2 separate regions of the Homo sapiens genome follow, and region 2 is linked to region 1. Evidence: promoter capture Hi-C in 16 types of primary human blood cells and fetal thymus (Javierre and others, 2016). All regions are on one chromosome and are shown on one strand. Each heading gives the region's core, a stretch centred on a gene start or on the middle of the fragment in contact. The rest is flanking DNA. Distances are from core to core; before and after follow the strand shown.

Region 1 (5,724 bases), core at 2,672-5,171:
ATGTGTGAGCGTGTGTGTGTTTCTGTGTGTGTGTGTCTCTGTGCATGGATGTGAGTGTGAGCATGTGTGTGTCTCTGTGCATGGATGTGAGTGTGAGCGTGTGTGTGTGTTTCTGTGTGTGTGTGTCTGTGCATGGATGAGAGTGTGAGCGTGTGTGTGTGTTTCTGTGTGTGTGTGTCTCCGTGCATGGATGTGAGTGTGAGCATGTGTGTGTGTGGCGGGGGGGGATAACCCAGGATAACCCACATCTCAAGATTCTTCACTTGATGGCATCTGCAAAGACCCTATTTCCAAATAAGGCTGCATTCCGGTTCCGGGGGTTGGGACATGGACACATCGGTGGGGACATTTTTAGCCTGCCCCTGGGCTGCAAGTGGACACGGGCTTTGCCCCTGAGGCCTTGGGGAAGGGGCTGGGACCTCAGCCAGGGAGACAGTGGGCATGAGAAGACGGGATGGGGGCCCCAGGCCCAGCCAAAGGGGTCCTCACTTCAGAGCTGGCCAAGGAGCTGCTGTCCCAACAGTGGCAGGAGGGAACCTGGGCAAGGAGGGGGCATGGCCCAGAGGCCTGGGAGAGGACGGACCTGGTGACTGGGTAGGGGCCAAGGAGCCAGGAGAGAAAGCAGTTGTGGGAGGGGAGCGGGACTGAAGGGGCTGGAGGCAGGTGGAGAGAGAGAGGGGTGAGAGTGGGGATGAGGCGGCCAGGTGGGGCGGTGGGCAGCCGCTGAGAGCAGGGTGCTCTCTGTGGCTTTTGTTTCCCAGGCAGTCGTCGGCAATGTGGGAGAGTGGGGTGGGGACGGAGGCCTGGCGTGCCCTAAGGAGGCAGGTCCAGGGCATGGTGGGACAGGCTGGCTTGGGACCTGGGAGGGAGCTGGGAAGCAGAGTGGTCTGGGCCTCCCTGGGTTTGGCTCCCTAAGTACTCCCAGTGCAGAGGACAGGACTTGGTGTATGGGAGAACTTTCTAGCAAAGCTCCCACCTCTTTACTGATGGAGGACCCAAGAGGGGCTGGCCGGTGAGCAAGGATCACCAGTGACACTGGCAGCATTTGCCTGGCACTCAGGTGTCCTCATTCCCAGGCCTGGGCCCTCCCTCTCAGCCTCAGGGCTCTGGGCTGGGAACCAACAGACACAAACCAAGGAGAAAGGACCATCCCCTTACCTGGCCATTAGCTGTTTAGGGGCCACAATTTGCTGAGGACTAGGGACTTCCATGACACTTTGTTCCTTGGCCATCTGACCTTGGCCTCAGTGGGACTCATCACAAAGGTAGGCACCATGGCCAACTCTTGGCTGGATTAGCCATGAGCAGTGCCCTGGGGGCCCGGGGGAGGAGGCAAAGTGGTGGGGCAGGTAGCCCCTGCCTCAGATTTTCTCCCCTGAACTTGCTTCTTCCCCCTGGCCAGACAGGGCCTGTGCAGAGTCTGGGGTCAGAGAATAGGGAGGGGAGATGCATAAACACGCAACCCAGGCAGCAGCTGCTCCAAGCTCAGGGAGATTCCCCCATGTGGATAGCAGCCATCAGTTAAATGAACAGCCTCCATCCCTCAGCATGTTCCCTGGTCCCCGAGGGAAGACAGTGACGCAGCCCAAAGGGACTCTTCTCTTTGCTTGTCAGCTCTCACAGCCACTCCTAAGCCTTTAAGTGTGGGTCTCCCCAGCCCCACACCTGCCCTCCCAGAGCTGCCCACACATGTCTGCTAAGAGGTGCTTGTCTTCAGCCGGGACCCAACCCTTGCCCAAGGGATGCTCCTGCTGGGGGCCACGAAAGGAGGCCAGCTCAGCAGCCTGCTTCTGCCTTTGCTCACTCCAGAGCAGGGCCCTTGGGCCTGGGATGGAAGGACATGACCCCAGGGAGCCTGCCACAGTGTGGGAGGCCAAGAAGGAACGTGGCCTGAATGCGCTGGGGAAAGGAGCTCCTCTGCCCTCCTGTGGTGCCTGAGGGCATGGGGGCAGCTGGCCTCCCGGCCAGGGGCCAAAGTCCAGCTTACAACCTGCTCCGGGTGGGATCCAGTGCCCTCTGGGCCTCCACTTCCCCATCTGGAATGTGGGCTAGTAAGAGGAACGACTCCAAGATGGCAGGGCTCTGGCGAAATGGCCAGAACTTAGCTCATGATAAGTTTCCAGCATCATTGGGGCTTGCTTCAGTCTTGATTTTTCCCATTCGGGGCCATGGGAAGTCACAGGCTGTGTGTGTGTGAGAAGGGGGTGTCCCCATGGCGGCTCTGGGCCCGGAGGAGCACACGCCCCAGGCTCAGGAAAAGCTGCCTCAGAGTTGGAGTGGAAGGGGACTGCGGGAGTGTGCAAATGAATATGTGTGAGAGTGTGAGTGGGGAGTGTGTGTGTGAGTGTGACTGTGAGTAACTGTGTGTGAGTGTGTGTGTATGTATGTGCCCATGTGTGTGCTCACTGGGTAAGTGTGTGAGTTGTGTAGGTGTGAGAGCATGTAAATATGTGTGAACCATTGTGTAACTGTGTGGGCCACCGAGCTTGTGTGGGTGAGGGTGAGTGAGCACATATGACTGTGAGGATGTGTCTGCGTGAGATTGTGAGTGTGTGCATGAGTGTGTGAGTGTGTGTTTGTGTAAGTAGGTGAGTGAGCATGAGTTCATGCATATGAGCAGGTGTGAGTATGTGTGCGTGCATGTGAGTGGGTGTGAGTAAGCATGTGTGAGCGCACACATGACCAGGTGTATGAGTGTGTGTGTGCGTGCGTGCGCGAACCTCAGCTTTCCACGGCACCAGCTGCTTCCTGTGGAAGGGAGGGGCAGTCTGTGGGGGTTGTGACGGTTCCCTGGTCTCAGGGGCAGCAGAAGCTTTCTGTCCTTTTGGTCCCTAGCACAGTGGTGCCTCCTCAAAGAGGCCTTCCCTGAGCCGCCAGCAGCCTCTTTCATGGCTCCCCATCAATGGGGTTCCATAGCTCCGACCCCAGCGGCGTGAGCACATTTGCCATCCGACGGCCACTCCCTGCTTTGTGGTCCCTGCTGTGTCCCCAGTATTCAGCTCTGGTCTGGCACACAGCATGTCCAGGGCCCTCTTTGTCCAAGGCAAGAAAGAATTTGAGGCTGCGTCCAGGCCTCTTGCACCTGCCTCAGGCTCCCGCCCAGAGCCTCTACCTGTGCCCCAGCGAGCATTCTCTGCTCGCTGCTCAGAATGCTCGCAAAGGCCGGCCCTGGGGTCAGAGGCCTCCACAGCCCCTGGAGCTGGGAAGCCTGGGGGTCCACCGGCAGGCACGGGGGTCTCTTTCCAGGTAGGTGGGAACGCGTGCTTGTGGGTGTGGACAGGTGTCTGCACTGGGGTTTGTCTGTGTGTCTGTCTCCACTCACACCGGGGATGTATGTGCCCCTGCGTGTCTGTCTCTGGTGCCCACCTGTGTGCAGTCTCTGTGTTCTGCCTAACGGTGGTGTTCCCGTGATAACCGACGGTGAGGATCTCCGGTAAGCGCCGCTTCCTCTGGGAAGACGCATTTGGACGCCCGTACTCTCAACAGGTAATGGAGTTTGCAGGAGACCACCAATGCCTTGGAGTCCACTGAGGCAAGACCCAAGGACCCCACGCTACACATCAGCCACCCGGCTCTGTGCCCCATTTTACTGTTGGGGAGACGCACCTAGAGGGCAGGGTCTGGAGAGGTAGTGGCAGCCTCAGTCGCAAGCTCAGGGTGCTCTCTCTGCACTCACAGGTGCCATGGTCCCCCAGTTTCCATCCCCACCCACCCCCACTCGGCCAGTGCCCTTTGGGGGCAATGCCAGGCCAGGAAGGGCGGGCACCCTCGCGCGTCCTGGGGACAGAAGGGCGCGCACCGGGCGCGTAGCTCCTGAGCCCCGAGGCCCCTGCGCCGCGCACCGCCCCCCGCGCCCGCTCCCTCCTCCCTCCCTCCTCCTCACCCAGCTCCCTCCCCTCCCCCCTCCCTCCCTCCGCGCTCAGAGCTGCGGTTGGAGCCGAGCGCGCCGCGTCGCCCGCCGCCGGTGCAGAGCGTGGGGAGCACTCGGCCGCAGCCCTCGCCCGCCGCAGAGGGTCGCGTCCCGCGCCGCCGGCCAGGCCGCCCCGTGCCCAGGCCTTTCCATCCTTGGAGCGGATCGTTGCCCGCCTGACGCCCGCCCGCAGCGACAGCGCCCGCCGGAGCCGAGGCCGCGGCGGCGGCCGTGCCCATGCCCGGGTAAGTGGTGCTCTGGGCGCGCGGGCGCCGCCGGGGTGGGCGCGGGCGCGGCGCGGGCACAAGGCGCGGGTGGGGATGGGAGGATGACCCGGCAGGTGGTGCGGCGGCAGGTAGGGGGACACGGGTCCCCGCCCGAGGCACCTGAGCCCCGCGCCGGGCCTGCGTGTCCTTGCGGCACTGCGGCCGCGCGTCACCCCGGGGCCCCAGGCCGGCGGGCAGCGCCCCGCACCCTGCACCCTGCGCCCCGCATCGCGCGCGCACGCGCATCCGTGTCTGAGGAACAAGGCCCTTGGGGGCTGCGGGCCGGGGCTCAGGGTGGGCGCAGCCGGGGGCGCGGGATCTGGGCCGGGAGCCCGCCAGTGCGCACGCACCTTCCCGGAGCCTCGGGCACCCCCTCCCCCCCGCGCCCTCACACTGTATCATCCTTCCCCTCTCGCCTTCCCGCACCGTTCCCCGCACGCCCACGCGGCTGCCCAGCAGACCCCACCGCGGTCATGGGCAGTGCCCACGAGAAGCCGCCCGGGGCCGCACTTAGGTAACTTCTCCATCCCTCCAGGAACGGCTGTCTCCCCCTCCTCGCCTGTGTGACCTTGGCCAGCCAGCTTTTCCTGTGGCCGCCTGCGTTTTCTCACGGGTGAAAGCTCTGGCTTTAAGATTCTGGAATTTGGAATGGCAGGTGCGGCATCTCCCAGAGCCTGAGACGATGGGCTTCTCTCTCTGTGACCTGGTGTCCTTCCTTCTGCTGGCCCTTCTGGGGGTTGGTGGCTCAGCCAGCCGGCTGAGGAGGGGTGGGAGGCAGGGCAGGGGCATGGCGCCGGGGCAGGTCAGGACTGGAGGGAGTCTTGGAGAGCCCGCGGTGAGGGCTCCATGAGGGTTTAGGAGAGACTGTGGAAATGCTCCTTCGCTCACTCAAGGGGCAGGGAAGGGACCAGAATTCCTCAACGAGATGCTTGCCATTTCCTGGCGAGGTCATATAACTTTCAAAGATGAAGCCCAGGGCCTCCGACCTCAAAGGAGTCCCTGCCTGCTAAAGGATCAAGTCCAGCCTGTCCCCAACTGGCCCCCATCCTGAATTCCACTGGCACCCTAAACGTCAGCCGACTTCCCCTGGCTGACTTGGGCACCAGTCTGGCAGGCACCCCCTGCACCTCCTCCCCTCCTTTGCCCACTAGGATCTGTGCCCTCACCCCCTGCCATTGCCCCTCACTAGTCAGTGACCATCTTAAGGCAAGGACTGGCTCTTCATTTGCACAGGCCTGGCACAGAGTGGGCACCTGGTTTCTGCATGGCATATTCATGACCTTGACCTCACTGAATCTGCAGACTCACTGAACAGGAGAGGCAAGGCCTGGATTTTTGTCCCCATTTTTCAGATGGGATCATTGAGGCCCCCAAGAGGAGAAGGGATTCAGCCCTGAATTGAGGCCCCTTCCTTCATGAGCAGATGGCTAGGGACATTCCTATGAACCTGGTGGGGCAGGGAGGCGGGGAGAGGTTATCGTAATAATCAAAGACCAGCCCCACTTCCTGAGCTCCATCTGAGTCTCACCTCAACCACACGAGTGAATG
Region 2 (6,245 bases), core at 1,298-3,797, 130 kb after region 1:
CTCCTCCCAAATGCTTTCTCCCGGTGCGAGGACTTGGCAGCAGGGCTCCGCAGTTAGGTGCAGGGGAGCCCCTCGCCAAGCGTCGGGAGACGTGGACCCTTGGATCCTAGGCTTCCCCTCCCTTCCCCATTGCGGAGGTTGCCTCTCCCCGTCCTCATTCCAGCCCAGCTCCTCTCACCTCCAGGGAACCCTCTCCAGAGAGCGCCACTGAGCAGCTCAGGAGCTCCCTCTCTAGCCGAACTGAGCCCCCACGGCAGGGCGGGCCGGGGAAGTGGCTGTCCAGCTCCCTGCTGGTCACAGCCCTGCGCCACCCCCACTCTCCACAACAAGACTGGCACATGGCAGAACCTCCGTGGTGCCTTCAACCCCTGCCCACTCTGAGCTCCCACCCACAGCTGCAGTGGGCCTGGAGGCAGCCCCCAGGCTGGGTGCCGGTGTCCACCTCCACCACTGTGGAGCTAGGCTGTGGACAGAAAACAGAAGACAAAGTCCCTGCCCCAGGAACACACTGAGAAAGGGGGAAAGTGACCACACTAGGGAGCACAGAGGAGGGAGACTACTGGCTCCGAGTTGGGAAGGCTGCCTGGAGGAGGGGGCCTGAAGAATGAGCAGAATCTCAGAATCTGGGCAGGGGGCATAGGAGGGAGGCCTGGGCTGGGGCCCTTGCCCACTGGGTGAGAGAAGGAAGGGCACAGTCCAGCTGCCCAAAGCCCTTGGATGCAGGAATTAGGACTCTTGTTAGACGCAGGGACATGGGGGGTGTGGCCGGAAAGCAGCCCAGTGCCAGGGTCCTGGGAGTCCCCGGCTAGCAGCCCACTGCCCGAAAGGGAGGGAGAGAGGCAAACTGGAAGCCCCTTAGAGGTGACCCACCTAGCTTTCCGTCACCTGCCCTCTTACCTAACCATGACCTGAGACATTTTCTCCTCTAACTCCATGGCTCCTGAGAGGAGTCTTTAGACTCGTAGTTTGCTTTGCATTTTCCACTTGTTAGAAAAATGCTTTGTGGTGCCCATCCTCGTGTGCATAACTTTGCTTTCTTTTACTTTAGTTCCTTAGATTCCCAAAAGTGGTCAAAGGGTTGGGATTTTTTCCTAGCTCTTGATATTGCCAGATTAATTTCCAAAGGGGCCGTACCAATATATAACCCTGCAACAGTTGAACAGCACGCTGATTTCACAGCAATCTTGCCAGCACTGCGTGTTCTCAAAAATGAGAACATTTCTAATGCAGTAGGTGGGAAGTGTTACCTCGTTGGTCATTGTTACTTGTTTATTGGAGTGGCTTTCCTTCCACGCCTGAAGTTGAACCTTCCCCCAAATATTTGTTAGGCCACCGCATTCCCTCCTTCCTGCAGTATGCAGTGTTTTCAGGTTCTTTGCCCATTTATCTACAGGGGTCTTAACCTTTTAGTTGGGTATGAGCTTTATCTTATCTGGCGTACATTTTCCTTCAACACTGTTATTTGCTTTTGTTGAGCTTTAAGCAGAGAAGGGACTTTTAGCCAGATCAGCATTGTGGACACCTCCCCCTGACCCTGGTCTCCTGCCTCAGTGCTCACCACACCTGAGACCTTGTCCAGTGCTCTTGCTGCCTGTGGATCTGTCCCGCCTGTTGTGCCCATGGAGGAAAGGATGGAGGCCACCAGCCTTGGTTGAGTGGATGGCATTCTGACGTTGGGCAGGGCTGGGCAGGGCAGGGTGGAGGGCAGGTCGTTGCAGGCCCGGAGGCAGGGAGACTGTTGTGCAAGACGTGACAGTGACCTGGCCTAAAGCTGATGAATTTGAGCCCTCGGCTAGGGCAAGGGACAGGGGAGAGAGGCGTGGATGTGAGAGATATTTAGGTAGAAACTAGTTCTTTCCACTTTGATTAGCCGAAGGGGGGTTAAGGGAAGGAGGCAGAGGGGGGAGCCACGGGTGACTCTTAGGATCAGTAATGTGATAAGAGCAGAGTGCCCCAGTTTAGGGCTGGGAGCTCAGGGTTCCTGGGTGCTTTTGGCCAGTCCTGTGCGAGTGAAGCGGGCTGGTATTGGTAGGTATCCAGGAGCTACCCCTGCCTGCCTAGCCCTGCAGCAGACCTCTGGGCCAAAGCTGCACTAAGTTTCTGGTCCTGCCTCCTCCTCCCCTCCGTGATTTCGGTGGCATCCCAAGTTTGCCCAAGCTGCTAGCTCTGAGCCCATTACAGAGATGGGGCCACTGAGATCCAGGCAGGGGAGAAGATGCTCCAGTATCACCCTGTGAGTTGGGCTGGAGGCAGCTTCTGCGGCAGAGGGGCTGGGCTCTGGTCCTCACCCCTCCCCCTGCCTCCCGAGGCCAGGCTGGCGCCGGCCAGGGGAGCCGCAGCTGGTCCCCTGCTGGGCCCCTGACCTGCCCTTGGCCTCTGCCCCGACCCCGTCCCGCCTCGGTGGAAGCCCCAGCTCAGCCGACTCGCAGGTCCCACCCGACTGCTTCGGCTAGCACCCGTTGGCTCACCGGCCCGCCGGGCCCGCCCCCGGAGCCCCGCCCCGGCCCGCCCCTCGGAGTTGTAACTCCACGTCCGAAGGCAGTTTCCAAGGTGGAAGCTGGGTCCGGCTGCCAGGAAGCGGCCGGTGCGCGGGCTGCGCGGGCTGCGCGGGGCTCGGCTTCCACGTGCGAGCCTGCACCGCCGCCCCGCCCTCTCCTGGCGGCCAGGCCTGGGGACTCTCTGCCGCGGGACGGCGCCTCGCGTTCCGCCGTGGCAGTGGCCGTGGCCAGAACGTCCACGCGCGGTCGTCCACCGCCGGATCTCGCTCCAGGTCTCTTTCCTTTTGTTCTCTCCTAGGGGTAGGGGGAGATGGGGGACCGGGGGCCAGACCACCTCTGAGAGGACTCGCTGAGGCCCAGCACCTCGGCGCCTCCTCTGTTCCCCTGGCCCACCTGGCCCTGGGGGAGATCTAGGCCTCGAACGGCACTCCTCGCACGCACACCCCCAGCCAGAGTCGGAAGCTCGAACTTGGGGAGCGTTCGCGAGAAGACCGAGACAGGAGCAGAAAGGGGGTATGGAGGGAGGCGGCTGCGACCTCAGGGTACCCCAAGATGAGCCTCGAAGGGGCGGTTAGCCGCTCAGCCCTCTTCTCGAGGACCCTTCCCCGGGCCGAGCTGCTGCCTGGGGGGTTTCTTGGGGCGCCTTGTTGGGAGTCCTCATGGTGGGGGACCCTGGGCTCCCGCCTTCAGGACGCGGGGCCGGCTTCAAGTCTGAGCCCCCTCGGCCCTCCGGTAGCTCACACCGCGCCTTCTCTCTCTTCGCAGCGCCCGTGGTCCAGCGTGTAGGGAGCCGATCGCCCATGGAGGGTCTGGGCCGCTCGTGCCTGTGGCTGCGTCGGGAGCTGTCGCCCCCGCGGCCGCGGCTCCTGCTCCTGGACTGCCGCAGCCGCGAGCTGTACGAGTCGGCGCGCATCGGTGGGGCGCTGAGCGTGGCCCTGCCGGCGCTCCTGCTGCGCCGCCTGCGGAGGGGCAGCCTGTCGGTGCGCGCGCTCCTGCCTGGGCCGCCGCTGCAGCCGCCCCCGCCTGCCCCCGTGCTCCTGTACGACCAGGGCGGGGGCCGGCGCCGGCGCGGGGAGGCCGAGGCCGAGGCCGAGGAGTGGGAGGCCGAGTCGGTGCTGGGCACCCTGCTGCAGAAGCTGCGAGAGGAAGGCTACCTGGCCTACTACCTCCAGGGTAGGTGCCGCGGGGCCCTCCTTCCAGGGGGTTCGGGATTCATTTGACCTTAGGCCAGCCCCACTTCTTTTTTTCTAAAGCGAGTTGAGGCCCCCCTCCCCTGATGACCTGCCAGGCTGCTTTGAGAGGAGGGAAGCCTGAGTGTGACCGTGGGGAAGTTCTTCACCCTCGGCAGCCCAGTCTCTGAGCCTGGAAAATGGGGAGAATTAGCCTGACCTGAGCTAGTTCTCAGGATGCTCAAGAACGAATTACAAAGTGCGGGCTCCCCAGGGTCTCGGCAAGGGTATCCCCACCTCCCCAACCTGCTCAGGAATGAGCAAGGGAGGCAGGGGTCAGACAGCACTGGTGCAATCACGGCTCACTGAAGCCTCCTGGGCTCAAGCGATCCTCCTGCCTTAGCCTCCCGAACAGCATATAAAGTGTCAGGTGTCCAGCCCGGGGAAATAGTATCTGTAAATAGAGATGCTGGCTTCTTGAGCCATATTCTCCCCCAAGTTCCCCCACATCTTGGGGTCCCACTTCATCCCTGAGAGTCAGGAGATGCCCAGGCAGAGAGCTGACATCTGAGTTCCTCCTTTTCTTTAGCTGATGGCCGCAGTCCTCCCTAAGGCTGGCAGTGCATCTCGGCTCTGTTGAGCCCTCACACCTGCCTCAGCTTGACCCTAGGGGTGTAAGATCCTTTCCGGTGGCTCAGCGTGAGCCCAGCTTCTTGCAGCCCGAGCTGACTGAGGGTGGCTAGGGCCCCACGTGGGTACCAGGACACACCAAGCTGCTGGGTTTTGTGTTCCCTTTGGGAACATTTGCAAACCCTCCAAGTTGTCCAGGGTCATCTCCCCAGCCCCAGACAGAGGCACTTGGCTGCCCAGAAGGCCAGGTCAGCAGGCCCCATGCCCTCTCCCCAACAGGAGGCTTCAGCAGATTCCAGGCCGAGTGCCCTCACCTGTGTGAGACCAGCCTTGCTGGCCGTGCCGGCTCCAGCATGGCGCCGGTGCCCGGTCCAGTGCCCGTGGTGGGGTTGGGCAGCCTGTGCCTGGGCTCCGACTGCTCTGATGCGGAATCCGAGGCTGACCGCGACTCCATGAGCTGTGGCCTGGATTCGGAGGGTGCCACACCCCCACCAGTGGGGCTGCGGGCATCCTTCCCTGTCCAGATCCTGCCCAACCTCTATCTGGGCAGTGCCCGGGATTCCGCCAATTTGGAGAGCCTGGCCAAACTGGGCATCCGCTACATCCTCAATGTCACCCCCAACCTCCCAAACTTCTTCGAGAAGAATGGTGACTTTCACTACAAGCAGATCCCCATCTCCGACCACTGGAGCCAGAACCTGTCGCGGTTCTTTCCGGAGGCCATTGAGTTCATTGGTGAGTCCACCCCACCCACCCTTCCCTCCTGTCCTCCCCAAGGCCTGCTCTGGCCTCCCCCTTGTGAGTACTCCTCCCAAGCCCCGCTGCCATTCCCAGAGCCAAAAGCCTAGGTGACAGTTCTAGGGGACAGGCAGAGCTAGGGCGGCCCCCAGAGGCCACTAGAGAAACCTGCAGGTCGTGGCCATCTGGCCCAGGGGGCAGGGCGGGGCCTTTGAGGGCCCTTCGGAAGGCCTCGGCCTCACACACGCCTGCCCTCCGGGTCTCCCGGGCCCTTTCCTGCCCCATCTAGATGAGGCCTTGTCCCAGAACTGCGGGGTGCTCGTCCACTGCTTGGCGGGGGTCAGCCGTTCTGTCACCGTCACTGTGGCCTACCTCATGCAGAAGCTCCACCTCTCTCTCAACGATGCCTATGACCTGGTCAAGAGGAAGAAGTCTAACATCTCCCCCAACTTCAACTTCATGGGGCAGTTGCTGGACTTTGAGCGCAGCTTGCGGCTGGAGGAGCGCCACTCGCAGGAGCAGGGCAGTGGGGGGCAGGCATCTGCGGCCTCCAACCCGCCCTCCTTCTTCACCACCCCCACCAGTGATGGCGCCTTCGAGCTGGCCCCCACCTAGGGCCCCGTGGCCGGCAGGCCGGCCCCTGCCCCACCCCCACCCACGGGTGTCCCTGCCCACTCGTGTGGCAAGGGAGGGGAGGGCAGGAGGGCTCGGCCTGAGCAGGGTGCTGGGGGGAGAGCGCAATACCTCACGCGGGCTGCCGTCCTAATCAACGTGCCTATGGCGGGACCACGCTCGGAGCCTGCCTCTTCTGCGACTGTTACTTTTTCTTTGCGGGATGGGGGTGGGGGTTCCCTCTCCAGGTGGTTGTCCAGGCCCAGGTCCCGGCCCTGGGTGCTCAGCCAGCTCGGCTAGGCCCTGCGCCTCCCTGCGCTTCCCCCTTCAGGAAGGGTGTGTGCCACCTCGTTGCACTGGATCCCAGTGGCTGCTTGGGGGAGAGGCGTTTGCCATCACTGGTGTTGTCACCTCCCTGTTTCTCCACCAAGGGCTTGGGCCTCTCGGGGCTGGGGCCTCCCAGGGGATGGGGACCCAGAGTGCAGTGGCCGCCCACATCCATGGCCTAGGAGCTACTGGGCAGGTTCCCGGCCACACATCTGGTGGGCTGTTTTGTTTTTTTTTTTTCCTCTTCCCCCAGATGTCTTGACGGGATCAC

Evidence for each region. Contacts are between HindIII fragments. The CHiCAGO score rates a contact against its expected background, and 5 or more counts as called.
Region 2: the fragment with the promoter of DUSP9 here is called in contact with the fragment with the promoter of ATP2B3 in region 1 in 5 of 17 cell types (M1 macrophages, erythroblasts, M0 macrophages and 2 more); the score reaches 6.9 in M1 macrophages.

Annotation. Positions count from the first base shown.
Region 1 is chrX:153,513,721-153,519,444 of GRCh38, forward strand. ATP2B3 (ATPase plasma membrane Ca2+ transporting 3) reads left to right here and starts at 3,922. Exons shown (of 22, transcript NM_001001344.3): 1 at 3,922-4,155; 2 at 4,712-4,831. The HindIII fragment of the contact is 7,787 bases long and covers 2,811-5,724 here.
Region 2 is chrX:153,644,656-153,650,900 of GRCh38, forward strand. It overlaps DUSP9 (dual specificity phosphatase 9), which reads left to right and starts at 2,548. Exons shown (of 4, transcript NM_001318503.2): 1 at 2,548-2,770; 2 at 3,264-3,671; 3 at 4,577-5,032; 4 at 5,325-6,245. The coding sequence starts at 3,299. The coding sequence ends at 5,650. The HindIII fragment of the contact is 18,543 bases long and covers 1-6,245 here.